Linked DNA regions of Homo sapiens: all the other regions are linked to region 1. The links are contacts of gene promoters, found by promoter capture Hi-C in human tissues and cell types (Jung and others, 2019). All regions are on one chromosome and are shown on one strand. The core of a region is centred on a gene start or on the middle of the fragment in contact, and the rest is flanking DNA. Distances in the headings are between cores, read along the strand shown.

Evidence for each region. Contacts are between HindIII fragments. The study calls those that stand out against the background at their distance.
Region 2: a fragment that was not itself captured here is called in contact with the fragment with the promoter of PPIL2 in region 1 in 1 of the 25 tissues and cell types used here (dorsolateral prefrontal cortex).
Region 3: a contact is called between a fragment that was not itself captured here and the fragment with the promoter of PPIL2 in region 1, in 1 of the 25 tissues and cell types used here (dorsolateral prefrontal cortex).
Region 4: a contact is called between the fragment with the promoter of AIFM3 here and the fragment with the promoter of PPIL2 in region 1, in 5 of the 25 tissues and cell types used here (adrenal gland, dorsolateral prefrontal cortex, heart right ventricle and 2 more).
Region 5: a contact is called between the fragment with the promoter of THAP7 here and the fragment with the promoter of PPIL2 in region 1, in 2 of the 25 tissues and cell types used here (dorsolateral prefrontal cortex and spleen).
Region 6: a contact is called between a fragment that was not itself captured here and the fragment with the promoter of PPIL2 in region 1, in 1 of the 25 tissues and cell types used here (lymphoblastoid cells).

Annotation. Positions count from the first base shown.
Region 1 is chr22:21,663,761-21,668,742 of GRCh38, forward strand. It overlaps PPIL2 (peptidylprolyl isomerase like 2), which reads left to right and starts at 2,252. Exons shown (of 20, transcript NM_014337.4): 1 at 2,252-2,371. The coding sequence starts at 2,340. RefSeq lists enhancers at 2,184-3,094, 2,329-2,568, 2,639-2,688. The HindIII fragment of the contact is 22,549 bases long and covers 1-4,982 here.
Region 2 is chr22:20,847,555-20,852,536 of GRCh38, forward strand. The region is part of intron 1 of PI4KA (phosphatidylinositol 4-kinase alpha); the gene reads right to left. Among named protein-coding and RNA genes, the nearest start is that of PI4KA, 8.8 kb to the right of the region's middle. The HindIII fragment of the contact is 9,318 bases long and covers 1-4,982 here.
Region 3 is chr22:20,923,548-20,928,529 of GRCh38, forward strand. The region is part of intron 1 of CRKL (CRK like proto-oncogene, adaptor protein); the gene reads left to right. Among named protein-coding and RNA genes, the nearest start is that of CRKL, 8.6 kb to the left of the region's middle. RefSeq lists an enhancer at 1,084-1,731. The HindIII fragment of the contact is 3,637 bases long and covers 257-3,893 here.
Region 4 is chr22:20,964,913-20,969,894 of GRCh38, forward strand. It overlaps AIFM3 (AIF family member 3), which reads left to right and starts at 2,343. Exons shown (of 21, transcript NM_001386814.1): 1 at 2,343-2,391; 2 at 2,893-3,063. The coding sequence starts at 3,033. The HindIII fragment of the contact is 23,315 bases long and covers 1-4,982 here.
Region 5 is chr22:20,999,947-21,004,928 of GRCh38, forward strand. THAP7 (THAP domain containing 7) reads right to left here and starts at 2,172. Exons shown (of 4, transcript NM_030573.3): 1 at 1,886-2,172; 2 at 1,310-1,465; 3 at 701-841; 4 at 1-486. The coding sequence starts at 1,965. THAP7-AS1 (THAP7 antisense RNA 1) reads left to right here and starts at 1,976. Exons shown (of 2, transcript NR_027051.1): 1 at 1,976-2,883. RefSeq lists an enhancer at 1,026-1,235 and silencers at 1,836-2,005, 2,026-2,135, 2,777-3,167. The HindIII fragment of the contact is 9,660 bases long and covers 1-2,579 here.
Region 6 is chr22:21,095,146-21,100,127 of GRCh38, forward strand. No RefSeq gene overlaps it. Among named protein-coding and RNA genes, the nearest start is that of LRRC74B, 52 kb to the left of the region's middle. The HindIII fragment of the contact is 6,514 bases long and covers 1-4,982 here.

The sequences.
Region 1 (4,982 bases), core at 1,002-3,501:
ATCTCACTCTGTTGCCCAGGCTAGAGTGCAGTGGCTTGATCATAGTTTACTGCAGCCTCAAACTCCTGGGCCTCAAGTGATCCTTCCACTACAGCCTCCCAAGTAGCTGGAATCACAGGTGCTGCCACCATGCTGGGCCTAAGATTCCAGCCCTTAAGGAGCTACATCCCATCCACTGTATGTGTGTCATGGAGGCAGTGGTTGTGTCAGGGAGGGTGCTCAGTAAACCGGGACACAGACTGAATTACACAGGATTACAAATTGTGAGGAATTGTGACAGACTTTATGGGAGATGCATGGAAGTGGGTGGTTAGGGAAGGTCTCTCTGGGGAGGTGACACTTATGTTAAAACCTAGAGAATAAGAAGCCAGCCATGAAATAAGGCAAAGATAGCTGGCTTTCGGTGACTGGGTGGATGGTGGTACTGCTCAGCAGAGTGGGGACTGGGAGAAGAGGGAGGATTGAAAATTCTGCTTTATGGCCGGGTGCGGTGACTCATGCATGTAATCCCAGGACTTTGGGAGGGCTGAGGCGGGAGGATCACCTGAGGTCGGGAGTTCGAGACCAGCCTGACCAACATGGAGAAACCCCTTCTCTACTAAAAATACAAAATTAGCCAGGCGTGGTGGCGCATGCCTGTAATAATCCCAGCTACCTGGGAGACTGAGGCAGGAGAATCGCTTGAACCTGGGAGGCGGAGGTTGCAGTGAGCCAAGATCACACCATTGCACTCCAGCCTGGGCAACAAGAGCAAAACTCCATGTCAAAAAAAAAAAGAAAAAAAAAAAGAAAATTCTACTTTGACCAGACATGTTAATTTAATTTTTTTAGGCAGAGTCACTCTGTCACCCAGGCTGGGATGCAGTGGCCTAATCTTGGCTCACGGCAACCTCTGCCTCCCCAGTTCAAGCTACTGTCTCGGCCTCCCAAGTAGCTGGAATTACAGGTGTGTGCCACCACACCAGGCTAATTTTTTGTATTTTTAGTAGAGATGGGGTTTTGCCATGTTGGCCAGGTTAGTCTTGAACTCCTGACCTCAAGTGATCCGCCTGCCTCAGCCTCTCAAAGTGCTGGGATTGGCCGGGCGTGGTGGCTCACGCCTGTAATCCCGGAACTTTGGAAGGCCAAGGCAGGCGAATCAGGAGGTCAGGAGATCGAGACCATCCTGGCTAACATGGTGAAACCCCGTCTCTACTAAACACACACACACACACACACACACACACACACACAAAGTGCTGGGATTACAGGCGTGAGCCACCACGCCCATCCAGACATGTTACATTTCAGATCAGTGGTTACCCAAGTGGAGATCAGGAACCTGGAGTGCTGGTGACTTAGTACTGGGAGTCATGGGATACAAATGGCATTTAAAATTAGGAGCCTAGGCAAGATTACCCTGGGCCTGAGTGTAGCTAGGGGCCCAAGGTACTGATCTGACCCAAGGGAAGGGTCTGGCAGAAGAGACGGAAGGGATCAGGTAGGGCTTTGGACCTCTAGGCTTGATGGCCACCTGCTGCTGGGCCTCCGAGGGGCCTGGAGGCGGTGGGGACCGAATATGCAGAGAGAATGAGAAGTGAGCGAGTAGAACGAGAGTGGTACATGGCTTTGAAGGCATCTGCCACGGAGGCGGGAAGGGATGGGGTGGAGGCTCATGAGACTTGAAGCTCTAGGAGGACGTTGAAAAAGACCTGAGCGCTGGCCGGGCGCGAAGCCTCAGGCCTGTAATCCCAGCACTTTGGGAGGCCAAGGCGGGAGGACTGCTTGAGCTCAAGAGCTCCAGACCAGCCTGGGCAACATTGTAAGAGCCTGTCTCTACAAAAAATTAACAAATTAGCCGGGTGTGGTGGTGCGTGCCCGTAGCTACTCGGGAGGCTGAGGTGGGAGAATCGCTTGAGCCTGGGAGGTCGAGGCAGTAGTGAGCTGTGATTGTGCCACTGCACTCCAACCTGGGCGACAGAGCGAGACCCTGTCTCGAAAATAAATAAATAAGACCTGAGAACCCAGTATGGGAATGGCCCTGAGCCGTGGCTAGGGGGGTAGACAAGGCGGTCCAGACAGACCCCTCAAGAAGATGGGGCTTCGAGGCTGAGGGAGCTCGGCCCCGAAAAGACGCCTGCGGGAGATGGCACACCTAGCTAGGACCCCATACTGGGCAGGCGATCCTTCCGAGCATGAGCACCTGGCGCTAGCGAACCACAATTCCCAGCACGCCAGGCGCCCGTTTCCGGGGCGCGCCGCGGAACCCGGAAGTGGTCACGGAACTCGGCTGCGGCTCCATGGTCTGAGTTGTCAGCCGTTGTTTTTTCGTGCTCGCTAGTCGCCGCCGCCGCTCCGCCATGGGGAAGCGACAGCACCAAAAGGACAAAATGTAAGTTGAGCCGCAGTCGGGAGCGGCGCTCCACTCTGCCTCAGTGAACCGCCTGTCCCGCACTGCGCGCCGCTCGCCTTCCCTCTCAGCTACTCCCCAGAGCACAGCCCAAAGGTCACTTCCTCCCGGAAGCTGCCGCCCTGTCTCCAGTCAGGGTAATGACCCTCGGGCCGCCGCGCTCTCCCGGGGCCGCGGCTCCGATGACGTCAGCTGCGGGCTCGAGCGCAGCCCGGTTTTCCTTACTCTGGTTCTGCCCGGACCGTCCCCCGTCTGTTCGCGAGTTTCGCCCTTGAATGAGTAGTCTCTACCTCTTCCGTACTTCACGTCTCGCTGTGTTCTGGTTCATGCCTATCAGCCTGCAAACGTGCTGCAGAGCCTTCTAATTTAAAGCAAACCAGGTCGGGCGCAGTGGCTCACCTGTAATCACAGCACTTTGGGAGGCCGAGGCGGGCGGATCACCTGAGGTCAGGAGTTCAAGACCAGCCTGGCTAATACGGTGAAACCCCGTCTCTACTAAAAATACAAAAATTAGCGGGGCGTGGTGACGGGCGCCTGTAATCCTAGCTATTTGGGAGGCTGAGGCAGGGGAATCGCTTGAACCCGGGAGGCGGAGGTTGCGGTGAGCCGAGATCGTGTCACTGCACTCCAGCCTGGGCGACAGAGCGAGACGCTGTCTCAAAAATAATAAATAAAATTTAAAAATCCACCCGTGCCCCGTGCCCCACGTCCCACGTTCCCCTCCCGCTGCCGCCGTGTTGTTTCTCTTAAGAACAAGTGAGAGACTAGTGGCTTCATGCTGTTTTCTGAGTCTCTTGAAACCACTCAAGTCAGAATTTCGACCCCAGAACTGTTGGGCTTCTCAACAGTATGTCACACCGTTGACCACTCCCTCTTTCTGAAGCCCTCCTTTGGTATCTGGGATTTCACCTGCTCTTTGTTTTCTCTCGACTTCAGCGGCCTCTCTTTTCAGGTTCCCAGCGACTTCTTGTTGCTAAATATAGTATTCAATCCTCAGTCCTCATTTTTTTTTTTTTTTTTTTTTGAGACGCAGTTTCGCTCTTGTTGCCCAAGCTAGAGTGCAATGGTGAGATCTTGGCTCACCGCAACCTCCGCTTCCCGGCTTCAAGAGATTTTCCTGCCTCAGCCTCCCGAGTAGCTGGGATTACAGGCATACGCCACCATGCCCAGCTAATTTTGTATTTTTAGTAGAGAAGGGGTTTCTCCATGTTGGTCAGGCTGGTCTCGAACTCCTGACCTCAGGTGATCCACCTGCCTCGGCCTCCCAAAGTCCTGGGATTACAGGCGTGAGCCACCGCGTCTGGGCAGCCTCAGTCCTCATTTTGTTGGGCTTCTCAACAGTATGTCCCACTGTTGACCACTCCCTCCTTCTGAAGCCCTTCTTTGGTATCTGGGATTTCACATGCTCTTTGTTTTCCATCGACTTCAGCGGTCTTTCTTTTCCCAGTCTCCTTTCTGGACCCTCCTCCCTTCTCTCAGATCTCATACGTTTCTTTTCCATAAACATTCTCTGTGGGTGATATAATTTCCCAGTCATCTATAAGCTGCTTTCCCCAGTCTTGTGTAGTTAGTGGCTTACTTAATATCTCCACTGGAGGACTGAAAGACATCTCAAATTTTTTTTTTTTTTTTTTTTTTTTTTTTGAGATGGAGTCTTGCTCTGTCGCCCAGGCTGGAGTGCAATGGTGCCGTCTTGGCTCACTGCAACCTCTACTTCCCACATTCAAGCAATTCTCCCACCTCAGCCTCCCCAGTAGCTGGGATTATAGGTGCCTGCCACCATGCCCATGCTAATTTTTGTATTTTTAGTAGAGACAGGTTTTCACTATGTTGGTCAGGCCGGTCTCGAACTCCTGACGTCGAGTGATCGACCTACCTCTGCCTCCCAAAGTGCTGGGATTACAGGCGTGAGCCACCGTGCCGGGCCAGACATCTCGAATTTAATATGCCTTAAACAGAACTCTTGATTTTCAGCTCTTGAGCCTGCTCCTCCCTGTAAACTAAAAATAAAACCCTAAGTCCCCCCACTGGCTAAGCAGACACCCTTGTGGCCAAGAGAACCCCAGGAAAACCTTAAAACTGAGTTCCTGGCCATGATGGGATAGAGATCAGCTGTGCCTTGTTATATCCCCCTCCCTTTTGTGGCTTAGACACAACAACTGACCAGCATTAATGTTGAAATAGAGATCATAAGGGGCCAGGCACGGTGGCTCACACCTGTAATCCCAGCACTTTGGGAGGCTGAGGCGGGTGGATCACCAGGTCAGGAGATCGAGACCATCCTGGCTAACACGGTGAAACCCCATCTCTACTAAAAATACACAAAAAAATCAGCTGGGCGTGGTGGCAGGCGCCTGTAGTACCAGCTACTCGGGAGGCTGAGGCAGGAGAATGGCGTGAACTCACGAGGTGGAGCTTGCAGTGAGCCGACATTGCACAACTGCACTCCAGCCTGGGCAGCGAGCAAGACTCCGTCTCAAAAAAAAAATAAATAAAATAAATAAAAATAAAGAAATAGAAATCATAAGATTGACAAAACAGACTCTTTGTGGCAATAAGATACCATTTTTTTTTTTTTTTGAGACGGAGTCTC
Region 2 (4,982 bases), core at 1,053-3,552, 820 kb before region 1:
GACCAACCTGGAGTACATGGTGAAACCCAGTTTCTACAAAAACTAGCCAGGCCATGGTGGCTTGTGCCTGTAGTCCCAGCTACTTCAGAGACTGAGGTGGGAGGACTGCTTAAGCCTGGGAGGTCCAGGCTATAGTAAGCTGTGATAATACCACTGCATACCACTGCTCTCCAGCCTGAGTGATAGTGAGACCCTGTTTCAAAAAAAAAAACAAAAAAAACCAGTAGAACAATTTCATTTAAAATAGCATCAAAAAGAAAAAGTACTTATGAATAAAAACAAAAGAAGTGCAAAACTAAGAAACATTACAACATTGCTAAAAGTAAAGAAAACCTAAATAAATGGAAAGACATCCCATGTTCATAGATCAAAACAGTTACTATTGTTTAGATGGCAATACAGGCCGAGCACAGTGGCTCACGCCTATAATCCCAGAACTTTGAGGGGCCAGGGTGGGTGGATCACCTGAGGTCAAGAGTTCGAGACCAGCCTGGCCAACATGGCAAAACCCTGTCTCTGCTAAAAATACAAAAATTAGCCGGGCATGGTTGTGCACACCTGTAGTCCCAGCTACCTGGGAGGCAGAGGCAGGAGAATTGCTTGAACCCAGGAGGCGGAGGTTGCAGTGAGCTGAGATTGTGCCACTGCACTCCAGCCTGGGTGACAGAGCGAGACTCCATCTCAAAAAAAAAAAAAAAAAAAAAAAGGGACAATATAGCAATACAGTCCAAACTAACCTACAAATTCAACACCATCCCTGTCAAAACCCTAGGTGAGTTCTTTGCAGAAACTAACATGCTAACCCTAAAATTTCCATGGTAATTCAAGGGACCCAGAATAACAAAAACAATCTTGAAAAGGAAGGACAAAATTGGAGGACTCATTCTTCCCAATTTCAAAACTTACTACAAAGCTAAAGTAATCAAGACAGTATACTAGCCAACATCAGGAAAGACATACAGACCAAATAAACCCTCACACTTACAGTCAACTGATTTTTGACAAGGGTTCCAGGACCCCTCAATGGAAAAAAGAATAGTCTTTCCAAGAAATCGTGCTGAGACAACTGGATATTCACATGCAAAAGAATGAAACTGGACCCCCATCTCATATCACATAAAATCTTAACTCAAAATGGATCAAAAACTCAAATGTAAGAGCTAAACTATAAAACTGCTAACAAAAAACACAGGTGTAAGTCTTTGTGACCTTGAAATTAGACAGTGGTTTCTTAGATACAACACAAAAAGCACAAGGGACAAAAGAAAAAAAAAATGACAAAATGGACATCATCAAAATTTAAAACTTTTGTACTTCAAAGAACACCATGAAGAAAGTGAAAAAGCCCACAGAATGGGAGAAAATATTTGCAAATCATATATCTTATTAAGAAACTTTTATCTAAAATAAAGAACTATTACAACTTAATTAAAAAAATACTACAATTTAAAATTGGGCAAAGAATCTGAATAGATATATCTCCAAAGAAGATCTACAAATACCCCAAAAGAGTGGCTGTTCTAGGATAGAATAGGCTGGCTCAACATCATTAACCATCAGGCAAATGCATATCAACAACAGAATAATAAGATCCCACTTCACATCCACTAGGATGGCTATAACTGGAAAGACAGACAATACAGAGTGTTGGTGACAATGTAAAGAAAACAAGCCCTCTGTACACCGTTGGTGGGAATGTAAATGGTGTAGTAACTTTGGAAAACAGTCTGGAGTTCCTCTAAAGGTTAAACCTAGAGTTATTGTATGGCCCAGCAATTCCACATCTAGTTAAAGACCCAAGAGAAATGAAAATATGTCTACAGAAACACTTGTACGTGAATTTCCATAGCAGCGTTATTTATAATAGTCAAAATGTAGAAACAATCCAAACATCCACCTACTAATGAATGGATAAAATATGGTATATGCATACAAATATTATTTAGTAATAAAAATGAAGTAATGAGATGCTACAACATGGATGAACCTTGAAAATACGCCAAGTAAAAACCATCATGGCAGGTGCAGTGGCTCACACCTGTAATCCCAGCACTTTGGGAGGCCGAGGCAGGTGGATCACAACAAGGTCAGGAGATCAAGACCATCCGGCTAACACGATGAAACCCTGCCTCTACTAAAAATACAAAAAATTAGCCGGGCGCAGTGGCGGGCGCCTGTAGTCCCAGCTACTCGGGAGTCTGAGGCAGAAGAATGGTGTGAACCTGGGAGGCAGAGCTTGCAGTGAGCCGAGATCGCGCCACTGCACTCTAGCCTGGGCTCCAGAGCGAAACTCTGTCTCAAAAAAAAATAAAAATAAAAATAAGCCACCACAAAAAACCACATCTTATAGAATTCTATTTCTACAAAATGTTCAGAATAAATCTACAGAGACAGAAAGTAAACTAGTGGTTGTCTAGGGATGGGGCTGGTAGGGCTGCAGGGTAACAGCAAGGTTTCTTTTGAGGGCAATGAAAATGACCTAAAATTGATCATGGTGATGGATGGACAACTCTGTGAATACACTAAATATGATGAACTGTACATTTTAAATGGGTAAATTTTGTGGTATGTGAATTATATCTCAAGAAAGCACTATTGAAAAACCTAGCCTATGAAGGATCAAATCAAACCACAAGCAACTGCCGACCAGAACAAAGCCCAACATTCCCTAAAGTAACACAACAAAAATCTAAACACTCAAGCCAGGCACGGTGGCTCGCCTGTTAACACCAGCACTTTGGGAGGCCAAGGCAGGTGGATCACTTGAGGCCAGGAGTTCAAGACTAGCCTGGAACCCCGTCTCTACTAAAATACAAAAAATTAGCTGACTGTGGTGGCGCATGCTAAAGGAGTCCCCATAGGTCTCTGGGACTATAAATACTCATTTAAAAAAAAATTTTTTTTTTTGAGACGGTGTCTTGCTCTGTCACCCAGGCTGGAGTGCAGTGGCGTGATCTCAGCTCACTGCAAGCTCCGCCTCCCAGGTTCATGCCATTCTCCTGCCTCAGCCTCCCCAGTAGCTGGGACTACAGGCCACCACGCCCAGCTAATTTTTTGTATTTTTAGTAGAGACGGGGTTTCACCGTGTTAGCCAGGATGGTCTGGATTTCCTGACCTCGTGATCCGCCCGCCTCGGCCTCCCAAAGTGCTGGGATTACAGGTGTGAGCCACCGCGCCCGGCCTACTAAAATTTTTTAAAATTTTCGCTGGGTACAGTGACTCAAGCCTATAATCTCAGCACTTTGAGAGGCTGAGGTGAGTGGATCACTTGAGCCCACGGTTTGAGCTAAGCCTGGGCAAGATAGTAAGACCCCATCTCTAAAAAAATTTTTCTTTTTTTACTTAGCCAGGTACAATGTGCGTGCCTGTAGTCCCAACTACTTGGGAGGCTGAGGCAGGAGGATCCCTCAAACCAAGGAATTCAAGGTGGTAGTAAGTTATGATCATGCCACTGCACTCCAGCCTGAGTGAAAAAGCAAAACTGTCTCCAAAAAAATGTAATTTCTATTTTTAAAAATGTCTAGGCCAGGCACAGTGGCTCATGCCTATAATCCCAGCACTTTGCGAGGCCGAAGTGGGCAGACGGCTTGAGCCCTGGAATTTGAGACCAGCTTGGGCAACACAGTGAGACCCTATCTATTTTTTTTTTAATGTCTATTTATCCACCCCTCTAATACCAGGGCCTAGCACAGTGCCTGCAACACAGCAAACCCCCAAAGATTTATCATATGAACGGATGGTGCCATCTTTTGCTTTCATAATAGTATAGCCTTGGGTTTTTTTTGTTGTTGTTGTTGTTTTTTGTGTGACGGAGTCTTGCTCTGTCGCCCAGGCTGGAGTGCCGTGGTGCAATCTCAGCTCACCACACCACCTCCCGGGTTCAAGCAATTCTCCTGTCTTAGCCTCCCAAGTAGCTGGGCTTACAGGCGCACACCACCACGCCCTGCTAATTTTTGTATTTTTAGTAGAGACAGGGTTGCACCATGTTGGCCAGGCTGGTCTCGAACTCCTGACCTCAGGTGATGTGCCTGCCTCAGCCTCCCAAAGTGCTGGGATTACAGGCGTGAGCCACTGTGCCCGGCTGCGTTGGTTATCCTGAATCCAGGCTTCCAGATAAGCTTTAAACACAGAAAAACATTCAGGAAAAGAGAATGGCTTCTGCAGCAGAGACAGAGCCTCTCAGGACTCAATAAACAAATGCAAGTGAGACCTGAGGATTTCTGCCTCAACTCTGTATTTATTTGTCAGTTTACCACACAAATGAAAGTAGCGTTCTGGCCAACTTGGCAATGTTCATGAAAGGCCAAGCTTTTCTCCAGCATGCCAACATATACAACAAAAGCAAATACAAAAATAAAAATATAAATAAGCCATCCTGGCTAACACAGTGAAACCCTGTCTCTACTAAAAATACAAAAAATTAGCCGGGCGTGGTGGCGGGCGCCTGTAGTCCCAGCTACTCGGGAGGCTGAAGCAGGAGAATGGCATGAACCCAGGAGGCAGAGCTTGCAGTGAGCAGAGATCACGCCACTGCACTCCAGCCTGGGTGACAGAGCAAGACTCCATCTCAAAAAGTAAATAAATAAATAAACAAATAAGCAATCAGGAAGATAAAATGCATAAATTTCAGCAACTGACGTCAATGATGGAAATAGCTGCTGGTGGGAAAGATTAGAGGCAACCACACCTCCAATGAGTGCAAACTGCAAACACAGACAGCAGAAAAGAGAATCTGCAGTAAGGAGTGAGAAATAGAACATTTCTGCCCCCTGGGGAGACAAACAGCTGGTGACACAGGAGGGCACTGAGGGAAGGCTACGTGAAGGCAGAGGGAGAAAGTGGCCTCGGAAGAAATCAACATTGCTGACACCTTCATCTTGAACTTCTAACTTCCAGAATGAGGAGGAAATATATCTGTGTTGTTTAAGCCAGTCTGTGGTACTTTGTTATGGCAGCCTAGCAAACTAATAGTTAATATGGCA
Region 3 (4,982 bases), core at 825-3,324, 740 kb before region 1:
ATTACAGTTATGAGCCACCGCGCCTGGCATTTTTTTTTTTTTTTTTGAGACAGAGTCTTGCTCTGTTGCCAGGCTGGAGTGTGGTGGTGCAATCTTGGCTCACTGCAACCTCCACCTCCTAGGTTCAAGTGATTCTCCTGCCTCAGCCTCCCAAGTAGCTGGGACTACAGGCGCACGCGCTACCACACCTGGCTAATTTGTGTATTTTTAGTAGAGATGGGGTTTCACCATGTTGAGCAGGATGGTTTTCTGTCTCTTGACCTCAGGGGATCTGCTCGCCTCGGCCTCCCAAAGTGCTGGGATTACAGGCGTAAGTCACCGCGCCTGGCTACTAAAAAAAAAAAAAATGTAAAGGTTGGCTGTGCTCGGTGGCTCGTGCCTGTAATCCCAGCACTTCGGGAGGTTAAGGCAGGAGGATCGCTAGATCCCAGGAGTTTGAGACCAGCCCTGGCAAGATAGTGAGACCCCATTCCCACAAAAAATTAAAAAATTAGCTGAGCATGGTGTCATGCGCCTTTAAGTCCCAGCTACTTGGGAGGCTGAAGTGGAAAGATTGCTTGAGCATGGGAGGTCGAGGCTACAGTGAGCTATGATCATGCCACTGCACTTCAGCCTGGGCAACAGAGCCAGACCTTGTCTCAAAAAATGAATGAATGAATGAATGTAAGTTGTATATATTTAATATATTTAATCTCCATGCATGGTGAAACAGCTGTGGGAGAACTGAGAAAGGGTGCTTAGTCTAACCTGAGAGCCCAGAAGAGGAGCCTCACACACCTGTGAAGTAGAAGCCAATCCCTGAAGGGACAGGAGGAAACAAGAAGCATGGTTGTGCCTCCTCTTTACATCCCCTGTTCTAATTATTTAAGAACTCAAATCTAGACTTCCATAATTTGGAATGGGGAAAGGATTGCCAGTAATTTTAATCAGCATAGAATTCAACTCTGTGAATAAACCCCTTTGCGTTTCTCCTGACCAGTAGTTAAAATCATGTGAATTTGATTCAGAGAAAAATACAAGAACATGGCCAGGTGCAGTGGCTCACGCCTGTAATCCCAGCACTTTGGGAGGCCAAGGTGGGTGGATTGCCTGAGTGCAGGAGTTTGAGACCAGCCTGGGCAACACGGTGAAACCCTGTCTCTACTAAAATACAAAAAATTAGCTGGGCATGGCGGCGTGTGCCTAAGAGGCTAAAGGCAGGAGAATCACTTGAACCTGGGGGGTGGAAGTTAAAGTGAGTCGAGGTCGTGCAGCTGGACTCCATCCTGGGCGACAGAGTGAGACTCTCTCCAAAAAAACAAAAAACAAGAACACTGTCATGCTGAGAATGGAATCTTGTCCAATTAAGAGTTGTGTTCCCAGCCGGATGTGGTGGCTCACGCCTGTAATCCCAGCACTGTGGGAGGCTTAGGCGGGCGGATCATGAGGTCAGGAGATCAAGACCATCCTGGCCAACATAGTGAAACCCCGTCTCTACTAAAAATACAAAAACTAGCTGGGCGTGGTGGCATGCATCTGTAGTCCCAGCTACTCCGGAGGTTGAGACAGGAGAATCGCTTGAACCTGGGAGGCAGAGGTTGCACTGAGCCAAGATCACACCACTGCACTCCAGCCTGCCAACAGAGCGAGACTCCGTCTCAAAAAAAAAAAAAAAAAAAGAGTTGTGTTCCCATGGAAAGTACTAGTAGCCATTCGATTTGTGACTTTTAAAACTCAAATCCACAGAATTGTGACCTAAATTTTTCCTTTTGATCTGAATGATTAGACTAGATTTCTGAGGGTCTTTAAGATTAAAATATTTTAATTCTGGGCCGGGCGTGGTGGCTCACGACTGTAATCCCAGCACTTTGGGAGGTCTGGCAGGTCGGGAGTTCGAGACTGAACCTGGGAGGCAGAGATGACAGTGAGCCGAGATTGCGCCAGCGCCACTGCACTCCAGTCTGGTCAACAGAGCGAGACTTCGTCTCGGAAAACAAAAAACAAACAAACAAAAAACATTATTTTAATTCTTTCAGATAAGTAAAAGGGGGCACAGCCTATTAGTTGGGAGTTCAGATTAACTTGAGTTGAATCTGAGCTAAAATCATAACAAGTTGGGTGGGGCCACCAGGCACATAGCAACTCACCTGGAATGAACGTGACAAGAACAGTGGAAGAGGATGAGAAGAGGCTTTGAAGGTGCACACTCAACGGTATTCGAATTCTGTCACACCAGTTTTGTGACAGTATTAAACCAGAGTTAGGTAATTTGAATACCTGAGCTTTTGTGCTTTCAGAAACAAAAAAGGAGGGAAATAGGAAAGGGAAGTTCTTTGATATATAGAGGCCTACAATATACCAAAGCTCACTGCTAGACTCTTGGAATCTAATGGAAGTAAACCATGTTTTTGTTTTTGATTTTTGTCTTTGAGAAGCTTTGGTCTATTGAAAAAATTAGAATGCCATGACAGCTTAAAAGCAAAGGCAATCAACTGTACCTAAGAGGTGGGGAGAGGCTTGAAAGAGGAGATGCTCTTCAACTGATTCTTTAAGGATGAGAACAAGTATACGAGGTAGAAGAGGTGGTGGTAGAAGAGATGGTGGCAGTGCTTGCTGGTAAAGACACAGTTATAATTAATGTAGATGATGGGCAGGAACCTAGGAAGGAAAGATAAAGCCAACTTGTAAAGGGCCTCCTCAGCCTTGTAAATGAGCTTAACAATGGGAGCCATCTAAAGTTTTTAAAAAGAGAACTGTCAGATTTTAAAAGGAGAACTGATGAGTTTTACTTTTGAGAAACTGCTCTGGGTGGGGAAAGATCTGAAGGACTAATTCTCTGTTACTGGAGAGGGACCCTGAGAAGCTGAGCCAAGATCAAATGCCATAGGAATGTAAAGTGGCACATAGAAGGTGAGGGGAGAGGTATGATGACTTCAGAGAGGATTGAGTGGTGCCTTTGAGACAAGAGAAAGGGATTAGGGTGGGTGCGTGATTCTTTTCAACAGGAAGAATCTTTCTTTGAGGTACCTGCTGGAAGCCAGGTGGTATTTAGCAATCTGATGGGTTTGTTATTGAGAAGAGAGGTAAGGGCTGAATACATATAGATTTGGGAATCGCAGCTTAGATGGGATCACCCAGAATGAGGAGGCAGAACAGGAATAAGTAGAGAAAGAGAAGCTGCGGAAGGAGAGGCAGCCACAAGCATAGGAGGAGGAGCCATTAGTGATGGCCTGAAAGCCCAGGGACAGAAGGGAGGGGACCTGGGCATTAAATGCTGGTCAGTGATAAAGAATGGTGGTTACTGGCTGGACATGGTGGCTCACGCCTGTAATCCTAGCACCTTGGGAGGCGGAGGCAGGTGGATTGCCTGAGCTCATGCGTTCGAGACCAGCCTGGCCAACACAGTGAAACCCTGTCTCTACTAAAATATAAAAAATTAGCCAGGCATGGTGGCGTGCGCCTATAGTCCCAGCTACTCGGGAGGCTGAGGCAGGAGAATGGCTTGAACCTGGGAGGCAGAGATTGCAGTGAGCCAAGATCGCACCACTGCACTCCAGCTTGGGTGACAGAGCAAGACTCCGTCTCAAAAAAAAAAAAAAAAAAAAAAAAAGAATGGTGGTTAAAGCAGTTTCACTAGAGAAGTACTTAGCTCATCTTGGAATTGAATTTTTTTTTTTTTTTTTTGAGACAGTGTCGCTCTGTCGCCCAGGCTGAAGTGCAGTGGCATGATCTCGGTTCACTGCAGTCTCCACCTCCCGGGTTCAAGTGATTCTCCTGCCTCAGTCTCCTGAGTAGCTGCGATTACAGGCGCCCACCACCATGCCCGGCTAATTTTTGTATTTTTAGTAGAGATGGGGTTTCACCATATTGGACCAGGCTGGTCTCAAACTCCTGACCTCAGGTGATCCAATTGCCTCGGCCCCCTAATGTGCTGGGATTACAGGCATGAGCCAGTCACCACGCCCAGCTGGAATTAAGTTTTCTACCTTTTTTTTTTTTTTTTTAACTGTGAAATATTTCATACATAGAAAAGAGTAAGGGTGCCGTGGCTCACGCCTGTAATCTCAGCACATTGGGAAGCCAAGACAGGTGGATCACTTGAGGTCAGGAGTTCGAGACCAGCCTGGCCAACGTGGTGAAACCCTGTCTCTACTAAAAAGACAAAAATTAGCCGGGCGTGGTGGTAGATGCCTGTAATCCCAGCTACTTGGGACGCTGAGGCAGGATAATTGTTTGAACCCGGGAGGTGGAGGTTGCAATGAGTTGAGATCGCACCATTGCACTCCAGTCTGGGTAACAGAGCAAGACTCTGTCTCAAAAAAAAAAAAAAAAAAAAAAAAGGAAAAAGAGTAAGCCTGGGCACGTTGGCTCATGTCTGTAATCCCAGCACTTTGGGAGGCCGAGGGAGGCAGATCACTTGAGGTCAGGAGTTTAAGACCAGCCTGGCCAGCATGTGAAACCCATCTCTGTTAAAAATACAAAATTAGCCCGGCAGTAGTGGGGCCCTGTAATCCCAGCTACTGGGGAGGCTTAGGCACAAGAATAGCTTGAACCCAGGAGGCAGAGGTTTTGGTGAGCTGAGATCACACCACTACACTCCAGCCTGGGCAATAGAGTGAGACTCTGTCTCAAAAAAAAAGTATATGTAAGCTGGGTGTGGTGGCATGCACCTGTAGTCCCAAATAGTGGGGAGGCTGAGGTAGGAGGATTGCTTGAGCCCAGGAGTTCAAGACCAGCCTGGGCAACATAAACCCCCATCTCTGCAAAAAATTAAACAAGGATTGGCTGGGCATGGTGGCTCATGCCTGTAGTCCCAGCTACATGGGAGGCTGAGGTGGGAGGATCACTTGAGCCTGGGAGGTCAAGGCTATAGTGAGCCATGATCGTACTGCTGCACTCCAGCCTGGGCCATAGAGCAAGACGCTATCTCAAAAAAATTTACAAAACAAGCCAAAAAAAACTATCATCTGTGTGCTCCCTTTAAAAAATAAATAAATAAAACA
Region 4 (4,982 bases), core at 1,093-3,592, 700 kb before region 1:
GGGAGGTCGCGAGGATCCCCGGAGACCCAGACTCGGGCCCGGGGCGCCCCCGGCCAGAGCGGCCCCTGGCTGCCTCCCTACGCCCCGCGACTCCGGTCCGGACGCCGAGGGCCTCGGCCTGCCCCTGTCCCCCGGCCGCCCCCCACCTGCTCCGGCCCGGCGGGGCGGTGCTGGGCCCGCGGGCTCCCCGGCCGCAGTGCAAACGCAGCGCCAGACACGCCCCGCCCGCGCCTCCCCGCCCCCCCGCGCCCGCGGCCCCAAGCGGTTCCCGAGCCCAGGCCCGCGCCGAGCCCAGGTGAGCGCCCGCCCCGGGGACCCTGGTCCCCGGAACCCCGGTCCCCGCCCGCCGCCCCGCCTCTTCGCCCCGGCGCCGGGGGCCAGCGCTTGCGCTCCCAAGTCTCGGACCCCGGCCCGGCACGTTAGGGGCTGGGGGTTGGCAAGCGGGGCCAGAGGCACTGGCCGGGGTCCGAAGCTCACCTCGTCCTTCTCTCGTCCCACAACGGCCCCTTCCCGGCTCGCCGCGGGGCCCCACTGTGTGCCAGTCCCCCTTCTCGGGCTGCAAGGTCTGGCGGGGGCAACGGGACGGAGCCGGCGAGGCTGCTGGCATCGGCTTCCCAGAGAGAGGGAACTGCACGTGCAGAGGCGGGGAGAGTGGACAGAGGCTTGCCCTGAGCTCCGTGGGGGAGGGGAGAGCGCGGAGCCCCCACACTCGAAGGCAGGACTGGGATCAGATGCCACCCCTAGGACGCCTGGAAGCCACTGGGAGTCCGATCTGGGCAGGAGCCCTTGGGATGAGGCAGTGGGGGCAGGTGGCGAGAGGTGGAGGAGTGGGGAGAGGACCCTGCCCAGCCTGCACCCTGGGGGCGCCAGGAGCCCTGGGAGGGTCAGGTGGAGCAGGGGCCGCTCTGTGAGATGGGAGTAATCCAGTCCCGCCTCACAGGTCCTGGGGTCCCTGGGACAGACACAGACTCCTGCTGGGTGGTTAGCACTGGGCTCTGCTAGAACTTTTCTGCAGTGGGCAGCTCATGGGCAAGGAATAGCACTCGGGCGCTCTGCACTCTGGGGGTCCCTCCTGCCCTGCCCCTGGCAAGGACCTTTGCCTTTGAGTGGGGTGACTGGGCTCCAAGCCGATCTAGCACACAGTAGGCCGAAGGCACAGGGGCCCCACCCAGTCTCCTTCCTGGCCCAGGCCCTGGGGGATTCAGGTCCCTGGGTACTCGGGAAGGGACAGCACAGCCTGGGCAGGTCCCCAGTGGCAAGACCAGGTCTGACCTTTTCTGGGATCTGTGGCCCATCAGGTGAGGCCTGAGGTCAGCCAGGAAGGAAGCGGGCAGGGCTGAACCAGGGCTGAAACCAGGACCCAGGAAGGGACAGCCTAGTGCCCAGGGAAGGGGCAGGTGGGGCAGGTGGCAGTTGAGTTTTACAGACCTTCTTTGATGACAAGTGGGGGAAAGAGCCAAGGCACGCCCCAGTGGCTGTGGGAGCCACCGCCTCCTCCCCTGTAATGGGCACCTCGAGGACCGACAGGCGCAGGGGCCAGGCACCAAGGGTCCCTCTCCAACCTGGCCTTTTGTTTCCACCCCTTGCTCTCAGGCACCCACCCACGGCCCTTCCTGGTATCTGGACCAGACCAGGTGGGTCTCAGCCCCACCTCAAGTGAGACTTCAGGAAGAACTTCCAGAGGAAACTGGAGGATGGCAGTGGGATGGACTGTGGGGAGGTCATTTGCAAACAAGGCAGCTTATGCCTGTGCCCTGGGCCTTCCAAAGTCCACCTGTAGGCTGCATCTTCCGGAAGGCCCACCCTGTAGCCTGGAAGGCACCTGGCTACAGTGATCTCTCTGCTGTGCAGGTGTCCCCTCCCCCAGGGCACCTTGCAGGGCCTTAGGGTGATATGGGGGCTTTCTGGGCCCCTGCCCACCTTAAAACTGATCAAGGTGGGAGGGTGGGGTGGGAGGCCACAGGGATGCCCCTGCTGCTTGACCTTGATGGGACCTTGACCCCTTGCTTTCCCCATATGCTGTTGGGCATGACTGCCCACAGGCCTGGTGGGCGTTTGTGAAGGGCTGGAGTCGGGGGTAGGGGGAGCTTATGGCTGCTGGGCACAGGCGTGGCAGGGCTGTGTGCCTGGCTTCCCTTTCCCCTAACCCCATCAGGCCCGGGCTGGCCGCCCACTTCTGTTCACCACAGAGCAGGGTTTCCCTGGGGACCAGTGGACTGGCCCAGCCCCACACCGCCCCCCAGCCCCTCCTGGCCACAGCTTGAGCTGGGAGGAGGGTGGAGGCTGGGCCGCCTCCTGGACCCCTGCCCTCCCTGCCCGGCCTTCCAAGGCCCGGCAGCCTCAGTCCACTGCTGGGCCTGGAACACGGAGCAGTGGCTGCCCTGCGAGGAGGTGGGTGTCCGGAGTGCTAGCCAGGGTGGGGCTGGGCTAGGGGGAGCCTGATGTCACCCCCATTGTAGGAGGGAGAAGACCAAGGATGAGAAGGGCTTTGGCTTCCCCAAGGTGACCCCCTCTTTGAGCCTAGGCATAGTGGTCTCCCGGGAGAATGGAGGGTCCCAGAGCTCTCAGGCTGTGGGATTTGGAGAGGGGAAGGGGGGCACGAGGAGGCAGTAGAAATCAGGGAGGATTTCCTGGGCAAGGCAGCCGCGGGGCTGGACGATGGGCGGCCGAGGTTCGGGCAGAGGAACTCCACTGGAGGAGTGAGGGAGCTGAGCTTGGAGGGCTTCAAAGGGGAGGTGACCTCCAGGGCCCCACGCTCTGGGATCAGGCTCACGCCATGGTTCCCAGCTCAAATGTAAGACTCTTTCCGAAGCTCCCACTGTCTCTCTCCGTCCCTCTGTGTCTCTACCTGCCCACACGCCCCGGTCCTGATGGCTCCAGTCTCCCCTGCAGGTCCTAGAGCAGCTCCAGCAGGATGGCGGCTCCAGCGTCTCTAAGGCCTGCAGGGGGTCCAGCCCCATGGGGGGCGCCCTAGGCCTCCGACAGCTCCCCATCTGTGCTCCTGCCTGCCGGCCATCCTCAGGCCACTCGCCATGGGCGGCTGCTTCTCCAAACCCAAACCAGGTACCTCCTGTCTTCTTGTCTCCATCCTTTCTCCTCCCTCCCCGCCTCCTCCTCCCCCGTCTCCCCCCCCTCCCCCTCTGCACTCGGTAGGCCTCCGAAGTAGGTCAGGCTATCCAAGAACCCGCTCGGAATGTTAATACGCTGCCGCCAGGAGGGGGTAGGGGGCCTGGAGCAGTTCCCCCAGCTGGCCCCTGCTCCAGTGGGTGCCCCTTTTTCTTTGGGGCTTTGAGTGTTGGTGGTGGGAATAACAGCAGGACCCTTCTTGGAAAAGGAAAGTCAGGGTTCCTCCTGTTGCAGGGTTGGGGAAGGGGCTATGCCCCCAGGGCCAGGGAAGGGGGGAGCTGGGGACACGCTCAGCCACTCTGTGACCTAGGGCATGCAAGTTACCCCTCTGAGCCTCTGTTTTTCTCTCTGCAAAAGAGAGGGCCTGGCCACCCTGACCTCTTAGAGTTGCTGTGAGGGTGTAGTGGGCAGATCCTGGCTCTCTTTGCCTCCTCTGATCCCCTGTGTGGTCTCGGGCTGCCTTCTTGGCCTTTCTGGGCACACTTCCCCATTTATACAGGAAATCACCATCCAACCTAGCCTGAGCTACTCCAGCCAGAAGTGGGAGTGTCCTGGGGTGCTAGGGGAGGCCTGGGTCTTTTCTCCACTAAAGACTCATGTCTGCGGAGCTCTCCCTCTGGCCCCCCACTTTCCCTCTTCTCTCCTCACAACACCTGGGGAGGCAGGAGTGTGCAGCTTTGTCACAGGTGGAGAAACTGAGGCTTAGAGAGACCTCAAGAGCGCAGCCAGTGCTCCACTCAACCTGCCAGGCCACGCTGCCCCAGCCAGCTCACCCCAGCCAGCTCACCCCAGCCAGCTCACCCCAGCTCCCCTTACCTGATACCCATCAGCTCCGTTACCTTGGAACTTGTGAGGCTTTTCTCCCTTTCCTGGGTCTAAGGGAGAACTTGGGCGAGGGAGGAGGGCTGTGATGACCCACCAGGCAGAGGGACCCACTTGCCTCTGCTCCAAGAAGCCACTCTTCCTCCCCCGCTCCTGTGCTGTGGACACCTAGGCCTGGGCTGGATCCCTCTCTGCCTCAAAATGTGCCTTGGGCAGATGACGTCCATTGTCTCCCCCTAGCAGTGGGTGGGATGATGCCAGCTGGCCTCATACCAGGCGTCTGTGGCACCGCTGGGCTGGCAGGAGGCCCTGGCAGAAGATGCCACCTGCAGGTTCTTTTAAAGGACCCCAAATGGCTGGCCTGCCTGGGACCCGTGGCCCCAGGACTTCCAGTGTCGGGGGTGGCCACCCTCACCAAAGGCAGTCCTAAGAACTTAGGCAAATCCAGCCCTGCCCCTTTCTGGCTGTGTGGCCTTGGGCAGGTGATTTCCCCTCTCTGAGCCTCTGCATCCTCATTGTAAAGTGGGGCTGTTGTGCCTAGCATGAGGGCCTGGCACACCAGAAGCACTTGCGGAATTTTTTTTTTTTGAGACAGAGTTCACTCCTTCTCCCATGCTGGAGTGCAGTGGCGTGATCTCGGCTCACTGCAAGCTCCGCCTCCCAGGTTCATGCCATTCTCCTGCCTCAGCCTCCCAAGTAGCTGGAACTACAGGCGCCCGCCACCACGCCCAGCTATTTTTTTGTATTTTTAGTAGAGACGGGGTTTCACCGTGTTAGCCAGGATGGTCTCTATCTCCTGACCTTGTGATCCGCCCATCTCGGCCTCCCAAGGAATATTATTTGTTATCCCTTTTCTGAGCTGGGCTCTGTGCTGCCAGGCCTCCCCTGTGGGGCTGTAGCCAGAGGCTCAGGCCCCAGGTGCCCATGCTGGGCAGGTCAGGCATGAGGCTCAGGGAATTTCCAGATATGGGAGTGACAGCATTTGGGGCCTGAGGGTTCAGCTGGGGTCTTAAGGGGCCACAAAGAGACTAGAT
Region 5 (4,982 bases), core at 922-3,421, 660 kb before region 1:
TCTGCCTGTGCCCGCTTCTCCCGTGCCCGCTCCTGCTGCAGCTTGGTCAGTCTCAACCGCAGCCGCTGCTCCCGCCGCTTGCAGGCCTGCAGCTGGCGCTGGGCCTTGTCAAGGGCATCAAGGGCTGCCTCGGCTCGCCGCTTCCAGAGTAAGGCGCTGCCCACCTGGTAGCTGTGTTCATTCTGGATGTAGGCTCCGGCGGGTGGGGGCAGGCGCAGCATATACGCTGAGGGGGAGACTGGCCGTGGTTCGAGAGGGGAGGGCTGCCGCTCTGGTGAAGGCTGGGCGCTGCAGCCTGCTTCATCTGCCTGGGCACCCAAGGGGCCCAGTAGGTCTGAAAAGGGGCTGCTAAGGCCAGGCTCCAGCCTCCCAGCTGGGGAGGCCGGCAAAGTGGCAGGTGCTGAGGCCTCTTCCACAGGAAAGCAGGTGACATCAGCAGGTGGAGGTGGAGAAAATGGAGTTGTGGGCCCTCGGCCCTCGGAGCAGCTGGTAAGGGGGAAGAGAGAGACTGATGGGCTAGGCTGAGGGCTTGCCAGACCCCCCTCCACCAGCCCACCTGATCCACCCTTAACACCCAAACCCGATCCACAGGTTCTGTGTAGCAAGAACCCTGTCCAGCGAGACTGCTGGCAGACACCCCTAGGGCCCAGTCCCTCAGCCTAGGGGTGGGAGTGGGGCATCCCCCACCCATATCACATACCGCTTCCTGCATCGTCTGAGCCGGCTGACTTCAGCGGGGCCAGGTGGGTAACTGTGTCCTTTGGTCTTGGTTGTCCGGCGCAACTTGGAGAAAGACTCAAATATGGTGGGGACTGCCCCCTCCTTTAGCCTGTGATATCCACTGCGGGGAAAAGCAACCCAGATGAGCTGGAGAGCAAGTGCTGCCTCCCCAGGCCAATCTGCCCCCAGCAGCAGCGCCGTGGGATGCTGGAAGGCATCGTGCAAACAATACGTCTGGGGAACGCCAAGTTACAGCTACACCAATCGCTTCCCCGCAGGACTCCTCACAGTCCAGGTGTGTGGAAAGCCTGCATAAGCCGAGCTGGGCTGACCAGCCAGAAAGAATTCTTTGATTTGTGGACTTGCTGGCAAGACTGGGGCTCTGAAAGATACTCTCTGGAAAGGCTCCTGTTTTCCCCTTGTGTCACAGGCACAGTGATCCTGGGGGTGGGTTTCACTGTGCAGAGCTGGGAACAGGAAACAGCCCCCTTGGACGCAGGCTGCTCAAGGGACTTCCATGACCTGCAGCTGTCCCAGTCCGCCGGGAGCCCCACATCCTACCCCAGCGTCGGCCGGCAGGGAGGCCCACCTGATTCCCACCAGCTCAAAGCAGTCCTCCTCAAAGTGTTTGGAGCAGAAGTAGATGTACTCGGATGCCGGGTCCCACAGGCCCTGGCCGCTGGGGTCCAGCCGCTGGCAGTTGGCCAGCCACAAGCCTCGCCTCGGGTTGTCCTTCTTGGGAAGTCTGTGGAGCCACAAACCCGTGAGCACCAGGCTGTCCACAGCCCTGGGCTCATGCTGCCCAAGCACCCCAGAGGGGAAACGCAGACCCAACACGCGCCGCCACGAGACCTCCCTGCGACCCCGCCGGGTAAGCACCACCGCCCGGGCACAGACGAGGCAACGGAGGCCTCGAGAAGAAAAGCAGTTTCCTCAGCGTCATCTGGCAGGTAACAGAGTGGGGCGGGTCCAAGCCGGCTAGACTTCCCGTCCTCCCCTTCCCGACTGCATTCAGTCCCGCCGGGACCGTTCCGCTTCACCTCCCACCCACAGGTTCAAGCCTCCTCAGTATCTGAGAAAGGCGCGAAGCCTCTACGCAGTTGCGACCCGAGGCGAGCAACAACTAGCGCATGCGCACGTGAGCCCGCGGCGCACGCGCGCTGACCTGTGGAAGGAGATGCCGCGGTTGCGCGTCTCGCGCGTGTCCCGTGTGCAGCAGCCGGCGGCGGAGCAGTGACGCGGCATCTGGGAAAGAGGCGGGAGTTAAGTCGCAAGCGGCTCTCCGGGCATCCGGAGGAGCCTCGCGCCTCCAGCCGCCGCTCCTCCCCAAGGGGCTCTGGCCTGTCGGGTCCCCCCCGGCCCGTTGTCGCCCCAACCCCGTCCCAGCCGATTCTCTTGACTTCTGTCAGCGGCACTCACGCTCTGGCCATTGCTGCGCCGCCGAAGTCTCGCGAGGGGTAGCGCGCGCCGGAAGTTGGTACCATAGAGACTGGAGAGCCGGAGGTGCCCCCGCCACCGGGGCGGGGCGGGGCGAGGTCCTAGCTAGCTGGGTTAGTAAGCGGCGCGAGCGTGCGAGTTTCTGACGCGCCCGCGTCGTCCCAGCTCCCTGGACTACCAGTATTGTCGCCCACGTGGGCTTCTCTTTCGTCCGCTCAGGCCTCACTTTTCTCCGTAAACACCCCGGCACGATGGAGCGGCCCCAGCGTTCGGGAGCGGCCCGGGAGCGGAAAGCGGCAGTGTCCTGGGAGCCTCGAAAGCCGCAGGGGCGGCAGCTCGCCTCGGAATGACCTCTGACGGAAGAAATAAAACGGGGCCTGGGACGCTTGCACGAAAGAACCCGACAAAAACCAGAGCCCGCACTCACTCTCGTACTGGGGAGGTGGACTTCAGGGAGGGTTATCTGGAGGAGGAATCTCTCAAAGTACAACACAGGAGAAAGACAGTATCGCAATACAGAAATTTTATTTTTTATTTTATTATTATTTTCCTGAGACCGGAGTCTCGCTCTGTCGCCCAGGCTGGAGTGCAGTGGCGCGATCTCGGCTCACTGCAAACTCCGCCTCCCGGGTTCACGCCATTCGGCTGCCTCACCCTCCACAGTAGCTGGGACTACAAGCGCCCGCCACCACGCCCGGCTAATTTGCAATACGGAAATTTTAATAGGTAATTAGCTCTCCTAGCGTTATGGTGGGGAATACAGAGGGATGGTTGCCTGCCGCACCCTCCCCTCACTATTCTTCGCCTTCTTCAGCCTCAGCTTCCACGGAATCCATGCCCACATCTTCATAATCCTCCAGAGCTGCCAGATCCTCGCGGGCCTCGGAGAATTCCCCCACTGCCATGCCCTCCCCCACGTACCAGTGCACTAAGGCGCACTTGGCCGAACTTATGGTCCAGGCAGGCCCAGGCCTCCGTGATGGCCGTGGTGTTGCTCAGCATGCACACCGCCCGCTGCACTTTGGCCAGGTCTCCCACAGGGACCACCGTGGGGGGCTGGTAGTTAATGCCCACCTGTCAGAGATGGGCAGCATAGAATGAAGTTTATATTGGCCTCAGAAATGGGAGCTCATTAAAAATCAGAGCTGTGGACCAGTTCCAACACTGTGTTTTAAGAATTGCTTCTATATTTTTTGGCATTATCTGTTATCTATCGACAATTAATATCCTTTGACGACTTTTTTTTTTCTTTTCTTCTCCTTCTTCCTCCTTCTCCTCCTTCTTTGTTGTTGTTGTTGAGACAGGGTCTAGCTCTGTTGCCCAGGCTGGAGTGCAGTGGTGCAATCTCGGCTCACTGCAACCTTTGTCTCCCAGGTTCAAGCAATTCTCCTACCTCAGCGTCCTGAGTAGCTGGGATTATGGGCATGTAAGATGGAGCCCGGAAGACGGAGATTTCAGTGAGCTGAGATTTCGCCACTGCACTCCAGCCTGGGCTACAGAGCGAGACTCTGTCTCAGAAAAAAAAAAAAATTATTACCCATATTACCCATACAGTAAAACACATGAAAAAGAATGAGAACCCTGTCTTGGGATATAAATACATCCAAGGTATATTGTATACTTTGTAAAAAGAAAAGTGAGTTGAAGTCTATGTATTTATGTGTAAAAAAATCCATGTAATAACATACACAGGCTAGAACCTTGGGCAGCTAGGGTAGCATCATGCCGGAGGAGGACAAACGCCTGCTGAGGTGGTGACCCTGCCTTGCCCTGCCAAGCACGTAGCAGTTAGCACCAACTAGATACAGACACACTCCACAGGAGTTGGAAGGGGCAGAGAGAAGGGTTCGTACCCTGATCAGGGAGTGTCCTCCCACAACTCTAAGGCCAAGCCTATCAGCCCTTCCAAGTGGGAGTGCTGCCAGCTTTCTGTTTACTGTGACCACCTGTGTGCAGCAATTGGGTCTGTCACCTACAGGAAAGGGACATACATATCTGCTGGCCACTGTCAACATCACCTGTATAACAAGAGATTAATATGCCTTGAATATGTACAGAATGTTTTTCAAAGGACAGAAGCAGCTCTGGGGAAGAAGAGGACTTCAGCTTTTCAGTCTTCTGCATTCTTTCAGTATTTTGCCACATATCAGGTTTTGTTTTGTTTTTGAGACAGGGTCTCACTCTGTCACCCAGCCTTGAGTGCAGTGGTGTGATCTTGGCTCACTGCAACCTCTGCCTCCTGGGTTCAAGCGATTTTCCCACTTTAAGTGATCCGCCTGCATCAGCCTCCCAAAGTATTGGGATTACAGGTGTGAGCCACCGCGCCCGGCCCATATCAAGTTTTTTTTTTTTTTTTTTTTTTTTTTTTTTTTTTTTTTTTTTTTTTGAGATGGAGTCTTGCTCTGTCATTCAGGCTGGAGTGCAGTGGCACAATCTCGGCTCACTGCAACCTCCACCTCCTGGGTTCAAGCAATTCTCCTGCCTCAGCCTCCAGAGTAGCTGGAATTACAGGCAACCGCCACCATGCCTGACTAATTTTTGTATTTTTAGTAGAGATAGGGTTTCACCATGTTGGCCAGGCTGGTCTTGAACTCCTGACCTCCGGTGATCCGCCTACCTTGGCCTCCCAGAATGCTGGGATTATAGGCGTGAGCCACTGACCGCACCCAGCTTTTTTTTTTTTTTTTTTTTTGAGATGGGTTTTGCTCTGTCGCCCAGGTTAGAGTGAAGTACAATGGTGCCATCTTGGCTCACTGCAGCCTCAACCTCCCGGGCTTAAGCAGTCCTCCTGTCTCAGCCTCCTGAGTAGCTAGCACTACAGGAAA
Region 6 (4,982 bases), core at 1,455-3,954, 570 kb before region 1:
ACGTTGGCAGTCAGCCTCTTGAAATCTTGTAGAGTACAGACAGAACCAAGAGTTGAGACAGCCATGTCTCCCCCACATTTTAAGACCATTCTCTTTCTAGAACTCACTCACTGCCTTCTGGTTGCTTTAGGACTCCCAGTACCCACCCAGACAGCCCCAGCTCCAGCCTCTGGAGACATCTCCTTAGTGGGTTCTCTGCATGCCCTTCCATCCTTGGGAAAACCCAGAACAAAACCAGATCTTCCAACAGAGGCTCTGCAATGGAAAAATCCCAGGGGACTGAGGTGCATGATCTGCTTTGGAGCACTCAGGGATATCTGTCTCCTCACACTGGGCTGGTTGTGGTGAAGGGTGCACCGGGCTCTTTTAATGTACACATCTGGATTGAACTGAGATTCCCACAGCAGATTTCCTAATGGTGAGTGGAGGACAACAGATAAATAAATATAATTAGGAACAGTATCCAGACTGACGCATGCTGAAGAGTTTCAGCAGGTACCAACAGATATATTCAGGAGTCAGAGAAGCTTGGGAAATTCCCATAGTCATAAATTGTAATCTCCGGGTCAAGTTAGCTGACCATCAGAAATCATCCTGGCAGGTCTTTTAACACTGCAGTTTCCTGAGCCTGACTTCTGAGGATTCTGATTCCATAGGCCTGTGGTGTATTTGTCATTTTGAGAAGCCTCCAGGGGGATTCTGACAACTGGCCAAACTTAGAGAGATTCACAAGGCACATTGTCACATTAAAGGCACTGAAAAGTCCTGTAATAATGACACCCACATCATTTCACTGAACCAGTTTATCAAAGTTACTTGAACACAGATCTCTCCCTCTATATATTTTGTACACCTGTTTTTACAAGGTCTACTGCTCAGGGAGCTTGCCAAGATTTCCTCTTAATAATTCTATACTAATATCATAAATCCAGGTTTTTTTATGTCTTTCCTACCATTTTGTAGTATCCACTGGCTGTTCTCTCCTTGAAGGCAGGAATAGTGTCTGTTTTATTTGCAATATCCCTTATGCAGAGTCTGAGTAAATGAGTCTTTTAAGATAATCTCTGAACAGGGGATGTGGCCCTCTGCCTCCCCGGTTCAATGAAGTACTTTGATACCAGGGTGGAAGAGAGATTTAAAGCAGCATGTCATAGTAGGAAAGGCTGCAGAGCCACTTTTGGTTGACAGTCATGGATGATGAGTGCCAGCAGTCCAGCTCCTTCTCCTCTGAGCTGTTTCTCCACTGCTCTGAGATCAACCTCTTAACAAACTTGGTCCCCAGGTAAAAGCCCTCCTGAGACATTTGGTTAAGAAGAGGAGTTTCCCATTTCTCCCCTTCTCCTTTCAGCCACCAGGCATTGAAGGGAGCAGTGCTGAGGCCATTTAAATGGGCTTCTCCATAGAATGGGCCCTTCTGTTGGAAACTGGGTTATGCACAAACCATTCACAATGGCTTTTTACACCCCAGAAGCACTAAGATCCCCCTAATCTTCAGTCAAAACAGAGCATGAAGGGTGGGGTATTCATCCCAAAGGCACTGGGCATCTGAAAGTTAGGGAGGGGTGGGACCACCCACATTCAGGGCTTTGATTTTCCAGCCAGAATGACAAGACCACAAGACCCCCAGGAGGACTCCATCCTTCTCATTCTTTATGTGGTGGACCCTTAAAAAGTGCAAGGTGGGAGGCTGAGGCAGGCGGCTCATGAGATCAGAAGATCGAGACCATCCTGGCCAACATGGTGAAACCCCATCTCTACTAAAAACACAAAAATTAGCCGGGTGTGGTGGCACACGCCTGTAATCCCAGCTACTTGGGAGGCTGAGGCAGTAGAATGGCATGAACTTGGGAGGCAGAGATTCCAGTGAGCTGAGATCGTGCCATTGCACTCCAGCCCAAGACTCAGTCTCAAAATAAATAAATAAATAAATAAATAAATAAATAAATAAAATAAATAATAAATTAAAAGTGCAAGGCTTTTTTTTTTTTTTTTTTTTTTGTGACAGAGTTTCGCTCTTGTTGCCCAGGCTGGAGTGCAATGGTATGATCTCGGCTCACTGCAACGACTGCCTCCCTGGTTCAAGCGATTCTCCTGCCTCAGTCTCCTGAGCAGCTGAGATTACAGGCGTTCGCCACCACGTCTGGCTAATTTTGTGTTTTTAGTAGAGACGAGGTTTCACCATGTCGGCCAGGCTGGTCTTGAACTCCTGACCACTGGTGATCCGCCCACCTCGGCTTCCCAAAGTGTTGGGATTACGGGGTGAGCCACCGTGCTGGCCACAAGGCATCCTAACAAGAGTTTTGCTACCATTATCTCCCGTTACAGTTGAGGAAACTGAGGCATGCAGAGGTTAAATGAAGCACCCATCAGAGCCAAGCAGTTAGATGGCAAAGTTGTATTAGTCTGATTTAAGAAAAGTTTAATACAGGTACCATTTACAGAGGTGCAGACAGTGTATTGATTTTTTTTTCTTTTCTTTTTTTTTTTTTTTTTTTGAGACGGAGTCTCACCCTGTCGCCCAGGCTGGAGTGCTGTGGCTCGATCTCGGCTCACTGCAATCTCCAGCTCCCAGGTTCAAGCGATCCTCCTGCCTCAGCCTCCTGAGTAGCTGGGATTACAGGTGCCTGCCACCACACCTGGCTGATTTAGTAAAGATGGGGTTTCACCATGTTGGCCAGGCTGGTCTCGAACTCCTGGCCTCAGGTGATCCGCCTGCCTCGGCCTCCCAAAGTGCTGGGATTATAGGCATGAGCCACTGCGCCCGACAGTATATTGGTTTTCTATTTCTCCATAATAAATAACTACAAACTTAGTGACTTTAAACAACACCCCTCCATTAGGTCATAGTTCTGTAAGTTAACAGGCCAGGTATGGCCTGATTGTCTCCTCAGTGTGTCACAAGTTTAAAGTCAAGGTGTTGCTGAGGCTGTGATCTCATCTGAGGCTCAGGGTTCTCTTTCAGACTTTTTCCAGTTGTTGGCAGAATTCAGTTAGTTGTGGTTGTAGGACTGAAGCCCCCACTTCCTTGCTGGTTGTTGTCCAGGAACCACTTTTATCTTTTAGAGACCACACTCAAAGTCCACAGGCAATTCACAGCATGGATGTTTGCTCCTTCAAGGCCAGCAGGTGGCTGTCTCTCACTCTTCAACTCTCTTTGACTTCTAAGGGTCACCTGATTAGGCCAGGCCCACCCAGGATAATCTTCCTTTTGATTAACTCAAAGTCAACCTAATAACAGTGTGAAATGCCATCATATTTGCAAGTCCAGCCCATCCTCAAGGGGAGGGCATTATGCAGGGGGTGTTCACCAGGGGAGCAACAATCTTGGCAGCCAGTTTAGTATTCTGCAATGCAGAGACAGGAAGCAGGAAACCACCAGGAATACTGCAGCTCCCTGGGAAGAGCAGTGGCGGGACTTGATTACAAGCCCTAGTCATGAATAGATGAGGAGCTGAGAGACACAGAAGGCTGTGGGGAGAGGGCCACCAGGAAGATGCTGGGTCCTTTGGTTGAAGGACACAGCTAGTCCATAGTTACTTGGCAAGGAGGGAGCTAGAAAAATAAATAGCCTGACCTCAGTTTCCTTTCTTTTTTCTTTCTTTCCCTCCTTCTTTCTTTTTTTCTTTTTTTTTTTTTGAGACAGAGTTTTGCTCTTGTTGCCCAGGCTGGAGTGCAACGGCGTGATCTTGGCTCACTGCAACCTCCACCTCCTGGTAAAAGGGATTCTCCTGCCTCAGCCTCCCAAGTTGCTGGGATTACAGGTGCCCACCGCCATGCCTGGCTAATGTTTTGTATTTTTGGTAGAGACGGTTTTGCCATGTTGGCCAAGCTTATCTTGAACTCCTGACCTCAGGTAATCTACCCGCCTCGGCCTCCCAAAGTGCTGGGATTACAGGCATGAGCCACTGCGCCCGGCCTTCTCACTTTCTTTTTTGAGATGGAGTCTCACTCTGCCACCCAGGCTTGAGTGCAATGGCGAGGTCTCGGCTCACTGTAACCTCCACCTGGGTTCAAGCGATTCTCCTGCCTCAGCATCCTGAGTAGCTGGGACTACAGGTGTGTGCCACCACACCCAGCTAATTTTTGTAGTTTTAGTAGAGACAGGGGTTTCACTATGTTGGCCAAGCTGCTCTCGAACTCCTGACCTCATGATCCGTATGCCTCAGCCTCTCAAAGAGATGGCAAAGATCCCAAAGATTACAGGTGTGAGCCACCGTTCCCGGCCACTTTCTCACTTTCATCTTCTGTTGTTGCTCTCCTTTGGCTGATCTTAACATGAAGCTGAGTAAGGGAGCCAGCTTATTGATGCAGTCAGTAGAAGCCAGCTTCCCAGGGAGATCCAGGTTGGGGGAATATGGAGTGTGGATCAGGAGAGGTAAGGAGATGATATTTGGCAAAAGTACTTCTTAGAGTCACACATCTTGTAATGATAGACCTCAGATTCAAATTCAAGTCTGTTTAAAGTCAAATTATACCATCTATGCATCCTTCCATGCATCCATCCATGCATCCATCCATCTATCCATCCATCCATTCTTCCATTTCCTGAGTGCCTACTGTGTGGCAGGCATTCTGCTAACCTAACAACCCAGTGAGAGACATACTTATATTCCTATTTTATAAAGGCCCAGAGAGGTTAAGTAAATAATCCAGAGTCACACAGCCAGGGAGTGGCAAAGCTAGAATTCTTATTTAATTCCAAACTTGATTTCTACCCTCTCCACCACCAACCACCCATATATATCCACTGACCAACCTATTCATTCATCAGACTTTTACTGCATGTCTCAAGTAAGCTATGCACTGTGTTTAGAGCTGAATGAGACACCATTCTTATGTCTCCATGATATTCACAGTCTGGTAGGAGAAACAGACCTGTATACAGGTTATTGTGCAGTGGTCGGGGACAGGAACTTTGAGAGAGGAACGTATGGTGCCCACTTGTGGGCATATAGGAGTGAGAGGTCTGCTCAGCTGGGGAA